Linked DNA regions of Homo sapiens: region 1 is linked to region 2. The links are contacts of gene promoters, found by promoter capture Hi-C in human tissues and cell types (Jung and others, 2019). All regions are on one chromosome and are shown on one strand. The core of a region is centred on a gene start or on the middle of the fragment in contact, and the rest is flanking DNA. Distances in the headings are between cores, read along the strand shown.

Region 1 (2,989 bases), core at 418-2,917, 130 kb before region 2:
TTAACCTCCATGGCAGCCTCCACGCAGAAGCTACAAAATGGCAGTTAGAGGGTTGGCGAGGCACCCAAGAGTGTTTGGCTTCATTTGTTTAGAAAGTTTTAAAAGTAGGAGCCAATGTTAGAAACAACGAGATTTCCCATAAAAGTTAGGAATTTGTGTTTATCATTAGATGTATCACGATGGGCTGGGCCCAGCGCTCAGGACACCTACTCTCCAGGCGGCCCGGACCCCACCAGGCTGCCCCGACTTTATGTACCAGCAGGTCCCTGGAGTGTGTGACTGCCACCCTGAATGCCATCACACTGCAGCACAGGCAGTTTCCCCCCCACAGGGACACACACACACACACACACACACACACACACACAGGCCATGCCCACCCACCCACAGGCTCAGAGCTCCCCTGGCCCCCATCCCAACCCCTGGGGACCCCTCTGGGCACACCTGCTCCTGTCCACTATCCTCTCCCGCTGTCACATCTCCTCCCCTCAGGGACCCAGGCCCTTCCTCGCCCCAGAGAGGCAGCTGGCCAGAAGTCTGGGGACCCCAGGCCCTTGGCTGTTCTGTCTCCCTGAGAAATCAGGGTCGAGTAGACAGACATACCTCCCCTCCTGTCCCTCCTGCTGTCCTTCCCTCAGCCCCCAGGATGGAGACTCCAAGCCTTCACTGCCAGCTCTGTTTCGGACAGCAACAACCATGCCACCTGTGCCTGGTCCTTGTCCTCAGGGTGTGGCAAGGCCATGGGGGCAGAGGAGAAGCCCTGTCCCTGCTCCTGGGAGTCACCAGGAGCCCCAGAGCCCCAGTCCCAGCCAGAGGGCCACCCCAGAGGCTGAGCCATGGGAAAGAGGGCGGATGCTGCAGGAGGTGGCAGTGTTGGGCACAGCCCTGGGGCTGGTGGGTGAGGCCTGTAGAGCTTCCTGAAGGAAGGCGCCTGGGGCTGACTTTGGGAGGAAGGCAGGCCTGTGCTTGGCCAAGAGAAAAGGAAAATCAGGGACTCCCCAGCCCCAGATGGACTGTGGCACCGCATAGAGCAAGCCCTGCCTGGAGCCGGGATGGCGTCTGCCTCTCAGGGTGGCTTTTAAAAGTAGGAGCCAATGTTAGAAAGAACGAAATTTCACATAAAAGTCAGGAATGTTGGTTTATCATTAGATGCGCCATGATGGGCTGGGCCCAGCACTCAGGCTGGTGTCTACTCCACCTTCTTTGCAAACCCTGGAGGGGCCCAGCCCCAGAGGGCTACCAGCCACTGGCCTCTGCCCACTTCTCCCGCAGGCGCACCCAAGGCGCTCCTCTGGCCTGGAGGTCTGATGGGCACCACCCTTCTCTAGCTGCCCTGCCCCTTGGCTGCCAGCTGCCCCCGGCGCACCCCGGGGAGGCTGGGCACCTGTCCTGCGCAGCGTGGACAGAGGGACCGGGGCCTGTCAGCCTTCAGGGAGGGGAAGGGGAGACAAAAGCCACCGGCCCTGCCCGACCAGCTCCCCTGCGCGGCTGCCCAGCTGGGGCGGGCACTCACCCTCTCCCGGCCAGCCTCGGCTGCTGCTGTGCGCCCGTCCTGGACCTACCTCGGGGCGGACTCGCTCCCTCCGCGCCTGGGCTGCCGCTAGGAGATGGGGCTGCAGCGCGCGGGCGAGCAGGGACTGTCCGAGGGCGGGCGCGGGGGTTGGGGGGGTGGGGACGAGGCGGGCAGCGCTTTATGGGGCGGGCGCGCAGGTAGGAAGGAGGCGCTGGTGAGTCAGACCGGCTGCATTCCTTCGCGCGGCGCGCACCTGTCGGGGCAGGAGCTGGGTGCCGCCGCCGGAGCCGGGTCCGCCCCCCGGAAAGGGCTGCGGCTCCCGCGGCGCCCGCCCAGCGCCCCGATCGGCTAGCGGCGGGGGCCGGGGGAGGAGCCACCGCTCTCCCTCTCCCTCCGGTCCGGCCCTGGGCGCGGGGCCTCCCCACCCCTCCAGGCTCCGGGCTCCAGGCTCGGGTGCGCGGACTGCCCCGGGCTGGAGGCGGCCTCTTAGCCCCCGTCCGCACGGGAACCCTCCCTGCCCCGACTCTGGGCCGCTAGCCAACGCCGGGCTGTGCTGCTGCTGCTGCCCCGACGGTCGTCAGCCGCGTACCCCCCTCCCCGCTCTCCGTGCCAGCGCGAGGCATGGGCCCAGGGAGTGCCCCCGGCCCGGTCGGGAGGCCTGACTCCCCGTCCCAGCTCTGCTCTGCAGTTCACGGGGTCCTCTCAGCCTCCAACCCCTAACCTCACGTTGTATCCAGAGGGAGAGCCGAGGAAGGGTCGGGTCCTCGGTGCACCCTTCAACAAGCTACTTAAATCTCCTTACAGTGTGAACAGTGATACCCTGGAGAGGTCAGTGCCGACCTGGCATGGATTGGCACTCGATGCCTTGTTACAGTTGTTCTTAACAAGCTGGTTACAGAGCTGGCCCCTCCCTCCCGTCAGTCCTCTGAGAGCAGTCTCTCCATTGCCACTGCTTACCACGGGTGTTCAGGTCAGAGAAGGGCTTCATTTTTCTTTTTCTTTTTGTTTTCTCTCTCTTTTTTTTTTTAGATGGAGTCTCACTCTGTCGCCGAGGCTGGAGTGCAGTGGTGCAATCTTGGCTCACTGCAACCTCTGCCTCCCGGGTTCAAGCGCTTCTCCTGCCTGTTTCCCGAGTAGCTGGGATTACAGGTGCCCGCCACCACGCCCGGCTAATTTTTGTATTTTTAGTACATCATGTTGGCCAGGCTGGTCTCGAACTCCTGACCTCAGGTGATCCACCCGTCTTGGCCTTCCAAAGTGCTGGGATTATAGGCGTGAACCACCATGCCCAGCCAGGGCTCCATTTTTCTCTAGGCTTACTGGCCAGCAATGCCAAACAACACCAGACTGCTGGCACAGCACTGTCCAAACCATGCGGTTTCAAGCCACCGTGCTTTTTCAACAGGCTGGTCCCTTCCCATGACATTGAGCCCAGTTTATCCTTCTTGTCCTTGAAGACGTTGCACCAACCACGTG
Region 2 (2,500 bases), core at 1-2,500:
GGGTCCTCCGGCCCCGCTCCTGCTGCGGCTCCCGCTTCGCCCTCGCCTGCCGCCGCTGGCACCTGCCCCACCGCCTTTCCGACCTGGTGGCGCGGAGCCCGGGCCGTCGAGGCCTGCATTGTTTCTGGCTCGGCGCCCCGCTGCGCCCGGTTGTCGCTCGCGTCCTTGGCCGGCCCAGTGTCCCGAGGAGCCCGCGAGCTGTCCTCGAAGGTCCTGGAGGCCATAGCTGCCCGAGAGCCCCGTCCAGGTCCGGTCCCCAGCGGACTCGAGTCGGAGTCCCCGCCGGAATGCTCGCTGGCTCCCAGGGGCCCCGTCCCCGACGACCCTTCCCGGCCCCGGGTATCTGCGTGGGGCCAGTCGCTGTCCAGGCCGTCGCTGCTTGGCTCCAGCGCTGACTCCGGCCCGGTTTTTGTCCCTTCCGAGCCCATGTCCGTAGGCTCCGGCGTGGGCCGCAGCTCCCGGGCTGTGCCGCGCTGGCTGCCGCTCTCCTGGGCCTCGCGGGTTTCGCTGTCCGGACAGGAGCTGCCTCCGTCCCCACCCGACGTGTCCCCATTGAGGCTCCTGGGCGTCCGGCGGCCCCGCCGAGCCGAGGGCCCCTTATCTTTCCGCTTCCTCCTACGGCGGCCGCCCAGCTCTTCTCCTCCGGAGAGGCTTCCCTCCTCCAGGCGCCCCCCGCGGCCGCCCCTGGGCCCGCGTCCCTGACGCTGCGCGTTGCTTTGCCTCTCCTGGGCTTTCGGGGACAGCCCAGCCCCTGGGCGTCTGCAGCCGCCGTTCCCCTCTGCAGTGGGCTTCCTGCGGCCACCAGGGGTTCCCTGGCCCCCGGCGGTGGCAGGCTCGGCCGCCGGTTTCGCCCTGTCCGCCTGCCCGCGGTCGGAACGGCGTTCCCGGCTGGGCGCGCCATCCGCGCTGGCCGACCCCGACTCCTGCTCCCCTGAGGCCGGCCTCCCGGGCCTCTCCAGGCGCTGGGGCGCTTTGCGCTGGTTCCTGCCCATGGCTGGCCCAAAGGAGACGGGCTTCCCGACGCCCAGGTCCTTTCCCCTCCCCGGGGATTTGGCCTCCCGCGGTGACCTTCTGTGCAGTGCACCACCCGGCTCTGCTCTCGCAGGGGCTACAGGCTCTACTCCCCGAGGTGCCCGCCTTACAGGACCATCAATAATGCAGAAGGCGGCGGGTCCTGACCCCCTCGGCCAACAATGGAATAGAGGCGCCCAGGAAACAGGAGACGCTACAGCTGCGGACAGGGCAACAGTGCCGCCGGGAGGCGCTGCCAGCCAGGCCAGCCTCGCACCGCGCCAGACTGAGGGGGTCCATGCTCCACTCCCACCTCAGTGCTTGCCCAGCAAGGAAGGGCCCAGAGAACCTGTCTGGACTTCTTCCTTCTGAGGGTTCCAAGGGACTGGGGCCAGGCCCACCCTGGCACACGGCAGCACTCCATGAGTCGCTAGGGTTTTTGTTCTTTTCAATTGTGGAATAAATACAATTTACCGAAAAGTACATAAAACATAAATGTACATCTTGAACTGGTGTAAAACATGCCTGTCTACCTCCTTGGAGTTGTGGAACAGAACCACACCCCATACATTCCTGATTGCCCCAATGTGTGTGTTTTTAAAATATCTATTTTTAAAACAGGTAATACATTCACATAATTCAAACATCCAAACATTACAAGATAAAAGTCTCCCATTCCTGACCCTCAGCCTATGTACTCAGTGTTCCCCTGAGGTTACCCATTTCTGTATTTCCTTGCAAAATTTTCCAGGTTGGCCGGGCGCGGTGGCTCACGCCTGTAATCCCAGCACTCTGGGAGGCCAAGGAGGGCGGATCACGAGGTCAGGAGATGGAGACCATCCTGGCTAACATGGTGAAACCCCCGTCTCTACTAAAAAATACGATAAATTAGCCGGTCGTGGTGGGGGGCGCCTGTAGTCCCAGCTACTCGGGAGGCTGAGGCAAGAGAATGGCATGAACCCAGGAGGCAGGAGAGAATGGCATGAACCCAGGAGGCAGAGCTTGCAGTGAGCTGAGATCACACCACTGCACTCCAGCCTGGGTGACAGCATTTTGTTTGTCTCAAAAACAAAGAAACAACAACAAAAACTTTCCATGCAGAGAAAAGCAAATATTATATTTTTCCCCTTTAGCACAAGTGGTAGCTTATGTAGCTCCGGGGTCTCCACTTTGCCTTTTTCACTTAACAATGTAATCTGGTGATTTCATAATAATACCATAAAAAGCCAGCCTGCCTTCCTCCCTTCTCTCCTCCCTCTCTTCCTTGCAAATAAATGCACCATGGTTGAACCAATTCCTTATTGATGGGTTTCTACATCCAAAGTGGATCCTGGCCAAGTGAGGTGGCTCATGCCTGTAATCCCAGCATTTTGGGAGGCCGAAGTGGGTGGATCACCTGATGTCAGGAGTTCGAGATCTGCCTGGCCAACATGGTGAAACCCCATCTCTACTAAAAATACAAAAATTACCTAGGTGTGGTGGCACATGC

The links. The method cuts DNA at HindIII sites, captures the fragments that hold promoters and counts their contacts. A contact is called where the count stands out against the background at its distance.
Region 1: the fragment with the promoter of ITGB4 here is called in contact with the fragment with the promoter of MYO15B in region 2 in 4 of the 25 tissues and cell types used here (liver, lymphoblastoid cells, mesenchymal stem cells and 1 more).

What each region holds. Positions count from the first base shown.
Region 1 is chr17:75,720,137-75,723,125 of GRCh38, reverse strand. ITGB4 (integrin subunit beta 4) reads right to left here and starts at 1,667. Exons shown (of 40, transcript NM_000213.5): 1 at 1,514-1,667. RefSeq lists enhancers at 847-1,385, 1,386-1,924 and silencers at 1,645-2,034, 2,045-2,104. The HindIII fragment of the contact is 11,256 bases long and covers 1-2,989 here.
Region 2 is chr17:75,586,550-75,589,049 of GRCh38, reverse strand. It overlaps MYO15B (myosin XVB), which reads right to left and starts at 1,250. Exons shown (of 64, transcript NM_001395058.1): 1 at 1-1,250. The coding sequence starts at 992. RefSeq lists a silencer at 19-148 and enhancers at 1-600, 1,029-1,098, 601-1,434. The HindIII fragment of the contact is 22,601 bases long and covers 1-2,500 here.